Regions from separate parts of the Homo sapiens genome. Here all the other regions are linked to region 4. Evidence: promoter capture Hi-C in 16 types of primary human blood cells and fetal thymus (Javierre and others, 2016). All regions are on one chromosome and are shown on one strand. Each heading gives the region's core, a stretch centred on a gene start or on the middle of the fragment in contact. The rest is flanking DNA. Distances are from core to core; before and after follow the strand shown. Region 1 overlaps KRABD5 (KRAB domain containing 5). Region 2 has its middle 8.1 kb from the start of PYCARD-AS1. Region 3 overlaps KRABD5 (KRAB domain containing 5). Region 4 holds the start of TGFB1I1 (transforming growth factor beta 1 induced transcript 1).

The links. Contacts are between HindIII fragments. The CHiCAGO score rates a contact against its expected background, and 5 or more counts as called.
Region 1: a fragment that was not itself captured here is called in contact with the fragment with the promoter of TGFB1I1 in region 4 in 1 of 17 cell types (naive CD8 T cells); the score reaches 5.6 in naive CD8 T cells.
Region 2: a fragment that was not itself captured here is called in contact with the fragment with the promoter of TGFB1I1 in region 4 in 4 of 17 cell types (naive CD8 T cells, naive CD4 T cells, endothelial precursors and 1 more); the score reaches 7.0 in naive CD8 T cells.
Region 3: a contact is called between a fragment that was not itself captured here and the fragment with the promoter of TGFB1I1 in region 4, in 3 of 17 cell types (activated CD4 T cells, total CD8 T cells and erythroblasts). The highest score is 8.2, in activated CD4 T cells.

What each region holds. Positions count from the first base shown.
Region 1 is chr16:31,751,218-31,755,094 of GRCh38, reverse strand. KRABD5 (KRAB domain containing 5) reads right to left here. Exons shown (of 5, transcript NM_001130913.2): 4 at 1,195-1,329. Among named protein-coding and RNA genes, the nearest start is that of KRABD5, 40 kb to the right of the region's middle. The HindIII fragment of the contact is 1,903 bases long and covers 1,291-3,193 here.
Region 2 is chr16:31,191,895-31,195,586 of GRCh38, reverse strand. It overlaps a transcript of FUS not described here. Among named protein-coding and RNA genes, the nearest start is that of PYCARD-AS1, 8.1 kb to the left of the region's middle. The HindIII fragment of the contact is 5,764 bases long and covers 1-3,692 here.
Region 3 is chr16:31,726,754-31,730,737 of GRCh38, reverse strand. All of the region lies in intron 3 of KRABD5 (KRAB domain containing 5), which reads right to left. Among named protein-coding and RNA genes, the nearest start is that of KRABD5, 16 kb to the right of the region's middle. The HindIII fragment of the contact is 8,496 bases long and covers 1-3,984 here.
Region 4 is chr16:31,470,567-31,474,559 of GRCh38, reverse strand. TGFB1I1 (transforming growth factor beta 1 induced transcript 1) reads right to left here and starts at 2,408. Exons shown (of 11, transcript NM_001042454.3): 1 at 2,359-2,408; 2 at 1,004-1,119; 3 at 826-878; 4 at 583-725; 5 at 321-408; 6 at 105-210. The coding sequence starts at 2,371. RefSeq lists an enhancer at 1,529-2,069. The HindIII fragment of the contact is 20,246 bases long and covers 1-3,993 here.

The sequences.
Region 1 (3,877 bases), core at 993-3,492, 280 kb before region 4:
GTAAGGGCTGAAGACACTTTAAATGATTTACCACATTCTTTACATTTGTAAGGTTTCTCTCCAGTATGAATTCTCTGATGCACAAGAAGATTTGAAGAATGAGTAAAACATTTGCTACACGCTTTACATTTGTAAAGTTTTTCTCCAGTGTGAATTCTCTGATGTCTAGTAAAATATGAACTAGAATTGAAGGCTTTGCCACATTCTTTACATTTGTATGGTTTCTCTCCAGTATGAATTATTTGATGTTGAGTAAGGTGTGAACGATGGTTAAAGGCTTTGTCACATTCTTTACATTTGTAAGGTTTCTCTTCATTATGGATTATCTTATGTTTTCTTAGACTTGACAATTTACTAAGGATTTTCTCACCATTATTACATCTGTGTGACTTTTCTCCAATATGGATTCTCTGAGGCTGAGTATGTTTTGATGACTGGATAAAAGTTTCTATACACTTATTACATTTGGCAGACTTCTCTTGAATAAAGATACTCTGATGGACATGGTTGGTGCATTCATGAAAGGCTTTCTCACATTTTTTACGTTTGCAATGGTTATGTAGAAAATGAGTTTTCTGATGTCTTCTGGGGCTTATGCCTTGGCTTAATGTTGTATCAGATTTATTGTACTGATTTTTCTCTGCAACACAAATATACTGGTAATTATTTAGGGTATAGTCCTGCCTAAAGGCTGTCAAAGTTTTATTATGTGTGTGATATTTTCCCAAATTATCTATTCCTTGACATTGATTAAGCAATGATGAATGAATGAAGACCTTTCTATATTGATCACAGGCAGAACGAGGTGTTATTTGTTGGTGAAACAAACTTTTAACAAAGATCCATCAAATTGATCATATTTAGAAATCACCTCCTCGTTTTTAAATCTCTCCTTTTCAGAAATATTTGACTGAACATTTACTCCAGTTCTATATTTTAATTGGTTTAAATGATTATTTGAAACATGGACTAAGTCACTATTCGGATTATCCAAATTTCCTTTAAAAGAAAAGGTAAGTTTCAAAAATTGATGTTGACACTTACTTACAGAAACACATGGTTTAGAAAAAGCAACTGACATAAATTGAGTTTTTTCATGTTTTTGACCTCCTGTAACAGTGAGGTTTTTGTTATAGGTAGTTGTCTTACATTTTGTATGTCCATCATAATATCCATTGTGACCTTCACACTTACCCTCACTTTCCCACTCTTTCCTTAAGTTTAAATTCTGAGGGCCACAGCTCCCATATCCATCCAATATCACTTTTTGGAATGATGCTTCTATAAGCTTCTTTCTTAAGAGGCCTTGAGTATCATGAGAAAAGATATCTGAAAGATACCAAAAGTTTTCAAAATTCCAATTACTAAATTCAGGTGAAAATACTTTATAAATCTAATACACAAATTATATCACGTTGAGAACACCATGATAGTTGAATCAAAAACTTGAGGCCCCTTTGTTTTCTCAATTGATATATGAACTTAAATGTAATAGGGTGACTAAAGCCAGGTGAGTTTGCAGCACCTAGGTGAACACAAAGCCAAGAATGGTCACATATAGAAGGAAGAAAGTTTGTTGTATTTGTGCACCACAGCACAGTGCAGTTACACAAAAATTTTTCGCATTCTGTTTCGCTCTCAGGAAAGAAAAATAAAAGGAGCAAAACATATGTCCAAAGTTCTGGGTTATTCTGGGGCTATCTAAAGACTGGCCATTGCTTCCTTTAATATGTGGTGCTGAAGAAAATGGTGATATAGTTGAAATGATATGTCGGGTCAACTGAGAACAAACATGAATGCTTGTTACAAGAACAGAGAGACAGTAGTGCCTATGACACTCAACAAAGGGGGAGATTAAAGGCTCCTAAGAGAAAAAGAAAAAAGCAAACCTTTTTAATAGGAAAATACACACAGTAGTCCAGAGAAGAAACATCCTGACAACAGTATGAAGAATCTCCCAGAATGACTAGAGTACCTGATGGGTATCAGTTTTCACATGTACAAATTCATTCCATAATAGATGGAATAGGTAGCTGTCTCTTACTTGATCAAAATATCAACAAAATCACAAGACATCAAAGTAACCAAAACACATGGCTCAATAAAGGGACCAAAATGAAAGTGAATCTAAAGAAGCAGAAATCTATTAACTAACATATTAATATCCAAGTGAAGCTAGAGAAGTAGAAATCTATTAACTAATTTTAAAATAATTTAAAATATCTATCTTTGTCTTATAGACAAGGTCTTGCACTGTCACCAGGCCAGAGTACAATCATAGCTCACTGGAACCTCGAATTCCTGGCCTAAAGCAGTCACCCTACCTCACTTCCCCAAGTGGCTATGACTACAAAAACACACCATCACATCTGAATAATTTTTTAAGTTCTTTGTACAACCAGGGTCTTGCTAGGTCATTTAGGCTGGTCAAAAATTCCTGGCCTCAAGGAATACTATAGCCTCAGATTCTCAAAGTGCTGGGATGAAACCAGCAACTGAACCTGGCATTTTGTGACTTCTTTAAGAAATGAGAATATTAACCCAACAACCATACAAAAGCACAAGGATGTATTCCATAATGATAAAGGGTTCAATTCAACAAGAATACCTACACATGCTAAACACCTATGCACCAAACTTCGGAGCACCGAGATTCATAAAACAAGTGCTTCTAGTCCTGAGAAAAGAATTAGTCACATAATAACAGTGAGGTATTTCAACATCCCATGGACATCATTAGATCCCTGAGGCAGAAAATTCACAAAGAAATTTTAGACATCAATTCCACATAACCTAATAGGCATCTACAGAATAGACCAACTGGACCTAATAGACATCTACAGAATATTCCACCCATCAACCACAGAACACATACATCCTTCATATGCACACAGGACATACTTGAAGATTGACCCTATACACTCAGCCAGAAAGCAAGTCTCAATAAATTAAAAAGAAAAAAATCATACCAGTCATACTTTTGGACTAAAATAGAATAAAAACAGAAAACAATACCAAGAAGATCTCTCAAAACCACAGAAATGCATAGAAATTAAACAACTGGCTCCTCAACAACTTTTGAGTAAACAATGATATCAAGGCAGAAATTTAAAAGTTCTTTGAAATAAGTGAAAACAGAGAAAACACATACCAAAATCTTTGGGACACAGCTAAAGCCACATTAAAAGAAGCTTATAACACGAAATGCCTATTTCAAGAAGTCAGATCTCAAATTAATGATATAACATCACTTGTAAAGAAACTAGAAAAAGAAAAATAAGCTGAGCACAAATGTAGAAGAATAGAAATAACTAAAATCAGATAACTGAATTAATTGAGACCCCAAATTCCATACAAAGCATCAGCAAAACCAAAAGTTGGTTCTTTGAAAGGGTAAACGAGATTGATAGACCACTAGCTAGGTTAACAAAGAAAAACAGAAGATCCAGATAAGCACAATCAGAAACAACAAAGGGGACATTGCAATCGATCCCACAGGTATACAAAAGATTCTCAGAGACTTCTATGCACATAAATTAGAACATCTAGAGGAAATGGATAAATTCCTAGAAACACAAAATTTCCAAAGATTGAATAGGGAAGAAACTGAAACCCTGAACAAACCAGTATCAAGTTCTGATACTGAATCAGTAATAAAAAATTTACCAACCAAAAAAGCCCTGGACAAGATGGATTCACAGCTGAATTATATCAGAAGTACAAGGAAGAGCTGGTATCAGTTCTACTAAACTATTCCAAAATATAAGAAGGGACTCCTCCCCTTTCATTCTATGAGGCCAACATCACTCTGTTACCAAAATCTGGCAAAGACACAATGAACAAATAAAACTACAGGACAATATCTCTAATGAACATA
Region 2 (3,692 bases), core at 821-3,320, 280 kb after region 4:
CTGTAATCCCAGCTACCTGGGAGGCTAAGGCAGGAGAATCACTTGAATCTGGAAGGCAGAGGTTGCAGTGAGCCAAGATCCTACCACTGCACTCCAGCCTGGGTGGCAGGGCAAGACTCTGTCTCCAAAAAAGAAAAAAGAAATCTGTACGTCAGAGATGTCTGCACTCCCACCCAATGCAGCGTTATTCACACTAGCCAAGATATGCAAGCAACCCAAGTGCCCAATTAACGGATGGATTTTTAAATGTGGTATGTAGACACAACAGAATGCTATTCAGCTTTTTAAAAGGAAACCGTTATTTGTAACATGGGTGAATCGATAAATCTAGAAGACATTATGCTAAAATAAGCCACAGAAAGACTGCATGAACTTATACACGGAATCTAGAAAGTCAAACTCGGAAACTGAAAGTAGAATGGGGGTTACCAGAGGCTTGGAGGTATGGGTAAGCAGGGAGACAAAGGGTACAACACTTCAGATGCAAGAAATGAGTTCTGGTAAGCCACTGCACAGCATGGTGACTACAGTTCATAAAAACGTGAGACACAGTGGCATGCATCCATAGTCCCAGCTGAGAGGCTAAGGGCAAGAAGATCACTTAAGCCCAGGAGTTCAAGTCCAGCCTGAGCAACATAGGGAGACCCGTTTCAACCCATTTACGCCTAGTGCTCCATTACAGGTGTGACCCACCACACTCGGCCAGAACACACTATTCTTACTGAATGACTGAAGTCAATCATTTTTTGTTTTTATTTTTGGTCTGATTATTCACAAAACATTTGCAACCTCCAGCATAAAAGGGCTGAAATAACATAAATTTCAAAATTTTCTAAGAGTGGCTTTGTATGTTCTCATTCATGCTAATGATATGAAGTGATGGATATATTAGCCTGATTTGATTCCACAATGTGTACATGTACAGAAATAGGACATTGTACCCCATAAATATATACAAGTTAATTAAAAATAAAATTTTCATAGCCGGACACAGTATCTCACACCTTAATCCCAGCACTCTGGGAGGCCAAAGTGGGACAATCACTTGAGCCCAGAGCAGTTTTGAGACCAGACCAGCCTGAGCAACATGGCAAGACCCCATCTCCACAAAAAATACAAAAAAAAATTAGCCAGTCATGGTGGCAGGTGCCTGTAGTCCCGTCCCAGCTACTCCAGAGGCTGAGGTGGGCAGATAGCTTGCGGGTGGGAGGCAGAGGTTGCAGTTGGTCGAGATCACACCACTGCAATCCAGCCTGGGTGAGAGTGAGACCGTCTCAAAAAAAAAAAAAAAATTTAAAAAGGATGAGACTGGAAGGAAGACATGCCTAAAGGTAGATCAGTGAGTCAAGTCTCACATGGGCTGGACCCTAGACCTTAATTCCTGGTCAATCTACCCACCACTGACATAACTGCAGCCCTACATCCAAGTACTGAAACCCAGGAAGGCCCGGCACAAGATGGGGAAAAAAGCTGAAAGGGCTAACTGAAGGCTACATCAAGGAAGGGACAAACAGACCTACAGCACAGCTCTCCCCACCCTCCTCACTTCCTACTTAGCCTGTCCCAATTCCAACTCACAAAAATGGGACACCTAATGCTTCAAGACAGATTTCAATCATTCAGTAAGAATAGAGTATTCTGGCCAAACGCAGTGGGTCACACCTGTGATCCCAGCACTTTGGGAGGCTGAGGCAGGCAGGTCACTTGAGGCCAGTTCAAGACCAGCCTGGGCAACCCAGTGAAACCCTGTTTCTTAAAAAAAAAAAAGTAATTAAAAAAAAAATTACCCAGGTGTGGTAGCGAGGAAGCACCTGTAGTCCCAGCTACTTGGGAGGCTGAGGTGGGAGGTTGGCTTGAGAGGCACCAATGTTCTCTCTGCTGCTAGGTGTCTCTATCCATTCTCCTGGAAGATCCCCCCAAACTGGACCTACCCACTAAACAGTCACCTGGGACCCTATTTCCTTTTAAGGTCAAGGCCAATCACATATGCCATTTGAAGGACACAGGAACTTGACACTAATGGTCCCAGTAATCATATCTTACAAGGAGCTTCGACCTCCTCCACTCCTAACAGGAGGGCATCAGGGGACCACAACCAAAGCAAGATTAGAATCCTGCTAGGCAAAGCACCAACAGTGAACTACTCAAATATCGTATCAGGCCATTTCAACTAAACATTTAACAAAGAAACCAGCAGTGGCAGGGACGGAGAGAACTGCCACATCCTCTACATGTACTAAGTCAAAGCAATGCCTGGGAAGGCCCACTTGACGATCCTTTGTTTTTAATACGCCAGACCACTCTCCGCCTACTGTTGCTTAGAGAGCACCCCAATGCTGGCAGGGGAAGTAAACCTGCTATTCCTCTTAAAAGTCATGGTTTATTGGGAGGCTGAGGTGTGCACATCACCTGAGGTCGGGAGTTCGAGACCAGCCTGACCAACATGGAGAAACCCCGTCTCTACTAAAAATACAAATAAATTAGCTGGGCATGGTGGCGCATGCCTGTAATCCCAGCTATCGCTTGAACCCAGGAGGCGGCAGTTGCGGTAAGCCGAAAAACGTGCCATTGCACTCCAGCCTGGGCAACAAGAGCAAAACTCCATCTCAAAAAATAAAGTCATAGTTTCTGTGCCTCAAATCACCCAAGATTCAAGGATGCAGCAACTCTTCAGTAGAGAACATACTTGTGGAACACTTGAAAATTTGAGAGGATGGCCAGATGCAGCGGCTCATGCCTGTAATTCCAGCACTTTGGGAGGCCAAGGCAGGTGGATCACCTGAGGTCAGGAGTTAAGAGACCAGCCTGGCCAACACAGTGAAACCACACCTCCACTAAAAATGCAAAAACTAGGTGGGCATGGTGGCCCACGCCTGTAGTCTCAGCTACTCAGAAGCTGGGATTCTCCTGAGGCAGGAGAATCGCTTAAACTCAGGAGGCAGAGGCTACAGTGAGCCGAGATCACGCCACTGCACTCCAGCCTGGATGACAGAGCAAGACTCTGTCTCTAAAAATAAAAAATAAAAATTTGAGAGGAAAGCACTTCCCAATTAGGGGTCCCCAGCACATTTGTAAGCTATGCTTGTGATGGCAGCTGTCTTACAAACCAAGTTCGAAAACCCTGTAAATAAAACCTTTCTGCTCTTGGGTTAATGTTACGCTCTGTGTAACTAAAATAAAAAGCATGCTAAATAACTGGTTGGCAGGTACGTGCAAGTTTACAACCACATGGTAAGAGGCTGAGGAGCACTGCTCTAAGGTTTTAACTCATTGGCTGCAACCCCTTCCCCCTCTTATCACTTATCATTCCCTTAGGAGGGCCTTCCACCCTCCAATCAAAAAGGGATCAAGCCTAAAATCTCATAATGTCAATGACCTCAAGCCCTCTGAGTACAGGCAGGATGTGAAAGTAACCCAGCCAGACCAGTCTCCTTATAGCAGGTATCTACCCAAGCGCTGTTCACCAGGGCAGCTAGGAAGGGAGTCACTCACCTCCTAGATCCTGACTCCACTCCACAAACTCCTGCAGCACTCAGTTACTCTCCTTCCTGTGAAAGACCCAGAGTGGCTAAGCGCTCTCCACCATGGTCAAATCTGAATACTGCCCCATTTAAATGTAGTTTGTTTGAGCCTCACCATTAAAAGGGCCAAAAGATCAAAGAGTTCTTAAAAAGGGATAAACTGCTGCAAAT
Region 3 (3,984 bases), core at 1,086-3,585, 260 kb before region 4:
TATGAAAGCATGAAGGAAGCATATAGCCTGTATAGTATATCATAAAGTGAACAAATATACATATTTTAGGATTTTCAGAAGAAGAAAGAAAGAAGAAAAAAGATTAAAGATATAATGTCTTAAAACTCCCCAAATCTGGAAAAGGATATGAACAAGAAGTTTCATAAAGCTCAAAATACCCATGGCAAGAAGAACCTAATGAAGATTCCCCTGGGGCATATCATAATTAAACTGTCAAAATTCAAAGACAAAGCAAGAATCATGAAAGCAGCATGAAATAAGAGATTCTTCACATACAAGGGAAACTTTATAATGTTATCAGTAGATTTTTTAGCAGAAACCTTACAGGCCAAATGGGAGTGATACCATATATTAAAAGTGCTGAAAGAAGGAAAATTAAACAAACAAACAAACAAAAAAGACAACTAAGTAGGCTATACACAACAAAGCATCTTTTAGAAATAAAAGAGAGATGAAGACATTTCAAGACCCCCCCACCAAAAAAAAAATTAAAGGAATTCATCACCACTAGACCTGTCTAGAAATGCTAAACGACTAAAGGGAATTACTCAAGTTGAAGTGATGAAATGCTAACTAAATATGAAAACATTAAAACTACAAACATCACTGGAAATGGTAAATAGTGAAATTCAGAATACTCGAATATTGTAATGGTGGTACATAAGTCACTTTTAATTCTAGTATAAGAACTATAAAACAAAACTATTTTTTAAAAGTATAGCTATGATAATTTGTTAATGAATACAAAATATAAAAAGTTTTAAAATGTGACATATATAGTATAAAATGTGTGAAGGGGAGGAAAAGCATAGAGTTTTTCTATGCATAAAAGTTGGATAATTATCATCTTAAACTAGGCTGTTATATGATGTTTTATGTAAGTCTTATAACCACTAGAGAAAAAAAAACTGTAGTAGATACAAGAAAAAAAGAAAGTAATCAAAGTATATAAAAACAACAAAAACAAGACAAAAAATTAACATGACCAAAGCATAAGAGGAAAAAAGAAACAAAGTATAAAATAGAAAACAAACTTATAATAGTTACCTATCAATAATTACATATAAAGAGATTAAATTATCCAATAAACAGACATTGATAAAGACTGAATGTCACTTCCAAAATTTAGGTTAAAATTTAATAGCCACTGTGATAGAATTAAGAAGTGGGACTTTTAAGAAGTGATTAGGCCATGAGAGCTCTGCCTGCATGAATGTATTAATGTCCTTATCACAGCAGTGGGTTAATTATCACAAGTGTGCGTTTGTTATAAAAGGGAGCTCTCTCCCCCTCGTGCCTTTGGCCATGTTATTATGCAGCAAAAAGGTCTTCACCAGATGCCAGTGTCATGCTCTCTGCCTTCCCTGCCTCCAGAATCACAGGCTAAATTAATTTGTATTCCTTATAAATCACCCATTTCATTATAAAATACCCTGTGAATATTCTGATATAGCAGCACAAAATGGATTTAAAACAGACAGTGGCTGAATGAATTTTTAAAAATCCAGTGACAGGTTGCTTACAAGAGACTCACTTTTGATTTAAGGACAAACATAAGCTAACAGTGAAAGAACTGGAAAGGATATTCCATACAAATGATAAACAAAAGAGTGCAGGCAGGGGTAGCTATACTTACATTAGACAAAACAGGCTGTCTGACAAAATCTGTCACAAGAGACAAAGGAGTTAACTATATAATAATAGAGAGGTTAATTTGTCTAGAGGATAGAGCAATTAAATAGATATATGCACCCAACACTGGAATACTTAAATATATAAAGCATACATTAACAGAACTGGAAGGAGAAATATACAGAAATACAACAAAAGAGAACATTAGTACCCTACTTAAAATGGATAGATCATTCAGGCACAAAATTAAGAAAGCAGTGCACTACTATAACACTATAGACTAAATGTACATATAACATCCCATCCAACAATATGAGAATACAGTCTTCTAAGAATACATGAAATATTCTCCAGGACAGATCACATGTTAAACCAAAAGTAAAAAGCAGTAAGTCTTTTCAAATGTATAAAGATTAAAATTATATCAAGTTTTTTTTTCTGATTGCACTGATATAAAACTGAAAATCAATAGCAGAAAGAAAACTGGAAATTCACAAATACGTAAATATTAAACAACACACTCCTGAAAAATCAATAGGATGAAGAAGAAATCAAAAGAAAAATCTAAACATATCCTGAGACAAATGAAATTGGAAACACAAGAAACCAAAACTTCTGTGATGCAACCAAAACAGTTCTAGTACAGAAGTTTATAATAATAAAGTTCTACATTAAGAAAAAAAAAGATGTTGAATAAGCAATCTAACTCAATTCCTCAAGAAACTTGAACATGAACAAAATAATCCCAATGTTAGCATAATTATGAAAATAGTAAGAATTAGAACAAAAAGAGACTAAATAAAGACTAGAAAGGCAATAGAAAAGATCAAAGAAACTGAATTGAGTTTTTCAAAGAAAACAAAATTGAGAAACTTTTGGCCAGATTAAGCAAAGGATCAAAAAGAGAGAGGACTCAAAAAATTATAAGTGGGCTGGGTGCACTTCCTCATGCTTGTAATCCCAGTGCTTTTGGAGGCCATGGCAGGTAAATCACTTGAGCCCAGGATTTGGAGACCAGCCTGGGCAACATAATGAAACCCTTCTCTCTAAAAAATACAAAAATTAGCTGAGCATGGTGGTACACCCCTGTAGTCCCAGCTACTTGGGAGATGGGAGAATAACATGAGCCTGGGAGGTTGAGGCTGCAGTGAGTTATGATCATGCCACTGCACTTTGGTTTGGACATCAGAGTGAGACCCTGTCTCAAATAAATAAATAAATAAATACATAAAAGAAAGAAGGATGAGTCATTACAACTGACAACACACAAAGAATAATAAGAGACTACTATGAACAATTATATGACAACAAATTGGATAACTTAGAAGAAACAGATTCTTAGAAATGAATGACTCACCAAGATTAAATCACAAAGAAACAGAAACACTGAACAGACCAATAATAAGAAAGGAGATTGAAGCAGTTATAAAAAAATCCAATGAGAAAAAGCCCATGACCAAATGAATTCATGGGTGAATTGTATCACACATTTAAAGATGAATTAATGTCCATCCTTCTCAAATTCTTCCAAAAAATTGAAGGGAAAAAACACTGCCCCTTAGTTTGCATGTAATGAAAAGTGGGTATATAAGTACATGACTGCAGAACTGCTCCTCTCAGCACACTGCCTACAGGGTAGCCTCGCTCCACAGGAGCAGTCATAGAGCTGCAACACTGCCAGCTCAATAAAGCTGTTTTCTTCTACCACTATCTTGCACTTGAATTCTTCCTGAGTGAAGCCGTGAACCTTCCCAGGATAAGCCCCAATCTGGGGGCTCACCTGCCCTGCAACAAGAGCAATTAGGTAAAAAAAAGAAATAAAAGGCACTCATATCAGCAACGAAGAATTGTAATTTTCTCTGCTTGCAGATTAGGTGATTTTATATACAGAAAACCCTAAAGAGTATACAAAAAGAGTTAGAGCTAATACTCATTCAGTAAAGCTGAGGTCACAAAATTACCATACAAAAATTAGTTGCATTTCTATATACTAACAATTAATGATCTGAGAAAAAAAGTTAAGCAAACAATCCAATTTATAATAGCATCAAAAGTATAAAATTCTTATGATTCCATTTAACAAAGGAGGTGAAAGATCTGCTCAGTAAAATCTGTAAGACAGTGATGAATACAATTGAAAAAGACACAAATAAATGGAAAGATATCCCTTGTTCATGGACTGGAAAAATTAATACTGATAAAATGTCCACACTACACAAAGTGATCTACAGATACAGTGTAATCCCTATTAAAATTCCAATGTCACTTTTCAGAGAAATAGAAATAAATTCTAAAATTTATTTTATTTTATTTTATATATATTTTTTGAGG
Region 4 (3,993 bases), core at 1,159-3,658:
CAGCGGGGAGGACATGAGAATTGAGTCAGCAAAGCAGCAGATGTGGAATTGTCTAGAAGGGGTTGGGGAGCCACAAATGGACACTGGCCCACTGCCCAACTCACATGGTTTTGAACGCGGAAGTCAGAGAGTGAGGCCATCAGTCTATCCAGCTCCAGAGTGGCTGAGGTGGCAGAAGCCTTTGGGAGGCCAGGAGACGGGCTGGAAGGGCTGTGAAGAACATGCTTGTGTCATCTCAGAGCCTCCCAGAGCAACGCTCCCTCTAGTGACTCAGATATCCAGGACTCATCTCTCAGCCCTGACAACGACGCCAAACTCACAGGCTGGGTCTTTTCTTATCTTCAGACTGGTCCTCCTTCTGCTCTCCTGAAGCCACCTTGCTAGATGGGAACTGAGACATGATTTCATCTGGAGAGAGGAGAGGAGGACGCTACATATAGGGCCATGCTCAACGCACCCTCACACTTGAGGCTTTAGGTCCCTTTAACTGCTACTCTGGGAAGTGTATTCCTCTTAGTCTCTGCCCCACCCTTCCCTCCCCTGCCCCTATCGCATCAAGGCCTCTCTCAGTCACCCTGGTACCTGTGATGTTGAACTGAGTGGCATTAAGTTCCTGAAGCAACCGATCTAGCTCACAGAGCCCGGTACCCAAGACACCGCTGGAAGAGGAGAATGGAGGGGCCGCCGGGGCTGCAGGCTTTGGGGACCGAGGCTTGCATACCGTGCTGGGAAGCAGAGTGGGAGCCTGGGTTCAGGGGTGGGGAATCCAAGCCTCCTCACCTGAGACTCAGTTGGCCCCCATGCCCTGGTTTCCAGGCCCCTCACCTGTACAGGTGGTCCTTGTCCCCCGAGGCTCCTGAAGACTCCCCAGACCCTGTCTACAGAGCGGAGACGCACAGGTGGGATGACAGGCCTGCACTCTGCCCCACTGAGGCTGAGATCCCCATAGACCAGGCCGAGCCTGGCCCTAGTGGCTGCCCCAGTCCCCAACATCCGATCTCACCTGTGGCTGGTGGCCATAGGATGGGGGAGGGGTGAGAGGCTCCGCAGGGCGCTCTTTGGGAGCCCCTGACCTTGGCATGTGCGAGGTGGTAGTCTCCAGGTCAGAGAGCAGGGCATCTGCAGGAAGAGGCCATCAGGGAGAGAGACAAGGGTCACGGTTAGATCAGAAGATAAGGTTCCCAGTGGGCAGTACTGGAGAAGGACAGAAGCCAGTATTAAGAGAAGAGGTCACAGGGCCAGAGCCAGGCAGAGCACTGCTCGAAGGGTAGCAAGGAATATTTATGACCAGAATATCCCAGTTGCTCACGCTTGGAGCCAAGCACAAACCCAGCCTCCTGATTATTTTATTCTCCCCATCTTCTCTGATGCAGTCAAAATGGGCTCTTCACCCAAGCCAAATTTGGCTCCCCTCCAAATTGCTCCATTGGCCCAGTGCCTGGCCCTCAGCTTTCTGATTGGACGCTCTCTCTTCCATGCTGGTTAACTCCTCCCTCTACCTACACAGGCCCCGCCCAGCCTGGCCACTCCCAGGCCCCTGAGTCCCGCCCTGGGCTCCTCACTGGCGCTTCGCTGGGACCTGCCTTCTGATTGGCTGTTTATCTGCGGTACAGCGTCAGTTACCCCTACCGAGCAGCGCCCTCTACCGCCAGGGGCCGGAAGCCCCTCTCTCCCGTGGAGCGCACAGCCTTCCAGCCCCAGGCTTCGCAGGGAGGACGAGATACCTGGGTCCCCCTTCCGGACAAGACACCTCTCTCCATCCCTGCATCCCCAGATCCGGGTCTTTTGAGCCCTTTCACTTCCAGAACCCAGAAGTCCTGCCCTCAGTCTTCGTCTCTGAGCACCCGCGTGAAACCCTGAAGCCTTCGCGGGCGCCTAGGCACTCCTGAGTTACTATTCTCTTCCTTGCCTCAAGGACCTGACCCTCACTGTGCTCAGGAGCCCTTAACTCCTCCTCTCCCAAAACTCTGGTGCAGGCAGGCCCGCTTTTTTTCTCCAAAACTTGATGCCAGACTTTCCCGTGCCCTCTACTTTCCCGGTCCCCGGGCCGAGGCCCCTTTAACCCCTCCCTCCCCAGAGCCCCGCGCCCGGGCGCCCGCGGGCGCCGCACCTCCCGTTCCATCTGCCGCAGCCTGGGATGGAGGAGCACAGCGAGGGAAGAAGGGAGGGAGCGGCCGGCCCAGGAAAGGCAGGAAGGGAGAGGCAGGAAGGGGGACGTGGAGTTGGAAAGGAGGCGCGGGCAGAGGCGAAAAGCAGAAGTAAGAAGACAGGGATGGGGAGATGCGGGAGAGCGACGGCGGGGAGGCAGCTCTGGGCAGCGGTGAGGGGCCACGGACCCGGGGATCCGGCCCCACTCACCCAGGTCCTCCATGGCGGGGCGCGGGCCGGTGGCGCGGGGCGAACAGGGCGGGGGCCGTGTCCGGTGGGGGCGGGGGGCGGGGGACGTCCGGGAGCTGGAAGCCCGGCCGTGACCATGTAAGGAAGCCGGGACCCGCTGAGATGGGGATGGGGGGGCGATGAACGGGGGAACCCGAGGTGGGGGCGTGGAAAGGAGGGAGCGCCCCGGCCCACCCGAGCCCAGCCCGCCGGCCTGCCGCGGAGGCGGCCACACCCCAGCCTTGGCCTCAGCTGCAGGGAGCCCCAGGAGGCCAGAGCCAGAGAGAAGTGGCTTCTCCAGACCAAGCCCCAGAGCCGCTCCCTAGGGAGACTTACAGACACGGACTGAGGCCCCCAAACAGACACCGCTCAAAGCTAGCGCCTGAGTCCTAGACAAGAGCCTCCCTCCCACCCATGCCATTCCTGGGAGACTTGTCCCAGACGGAATTTTTGGATTGGTAGCAGGAGTGATATTCTAAGGCTCAATTAGACCTCAGGTTCGGAGACCCTCCCATCGGAGACCCTGACAGATAAATAGAGGCCCCAAGAGGCATACATACCAGACACAAAGAAATCTGAGGGACGGGGACAGACACAGTGAACCCACCCACAGACTCTACACTAGGACCTTCCCTCCAAGACTTGGTCATGGACACACGTAAACTCGAACCCGGGCGCAAGCCCCTTGCAAATTCGGGGAAAACACTCCCAGGCAACCAACCCCCAGCCAGCCTGCAAGACAAAGCCCTTCCTCAGCACTGAGGTGGCCCAGGCCTGCTCTGAAACAGCCCTTTCCCAAGTTACTGATGAACTCAGAGCAGAAAGCAAGACACAGTCTCCAGCCACAAAGTGGCAAGGCCTTCCCTGGACTGAGACCCTGAGAAACGAGGTGGAAACGAGAGGCCATAGAGGTAGTTATGGACAGACAACTGTGCTGCAGCCACTCTTCTGGACAGATCTGAGCACTGGAATGTGAGTATCAACCCAGCAGCAAATCGGAACAACCTGGGGAGCTTTTTAAAAATGCGAGACAGGCATGGTGGCTCACACCTATAATCCTAGCACTTTGGGAGGTCAAGGCGGGCAGGTCACTTGAGGTCAGGAGTTCGAGACCAGCCTGGCCAACATGACAAAACCCCATCTCTACTAAAAACACAAAATTAGCTGTGCGTGGTGGTGGGAGCCTGTAATTCCAGCTACTTGGGAGGCTGAGACAGGAGAATTGCTTGAAACCTGGAGGCAGAGGCTGCAGTGAGCTGAGATTGTGCCACTGAACTCCTGAGCAACAGAGGAGACCCTGTGTCAAGAATAAAAAAGAAAAAGAAGAAAAAATGGGCAAACGACCTGAATAGACAGTTCAAAGAAGTTATATAAATAGCCAATGATTACATGAAAAGATCCTCAACATCATTAGTCCCCAGAGAAATGCAAATCAAAACTACAATGAGATGCCACATCATACCTATTAGGATGGCAATAACAAAAAAGACAGGTAATTAGGCAAGGAGCAGTGGCTCACACCTGTAATCCTAACACTTTGGAAGGCCGAGGTGGGTGGATCCCCTGAGGTCAGGAGTTCGAGACCAGCCTGGCTAACATGGTGAAAACAGTCTCTAC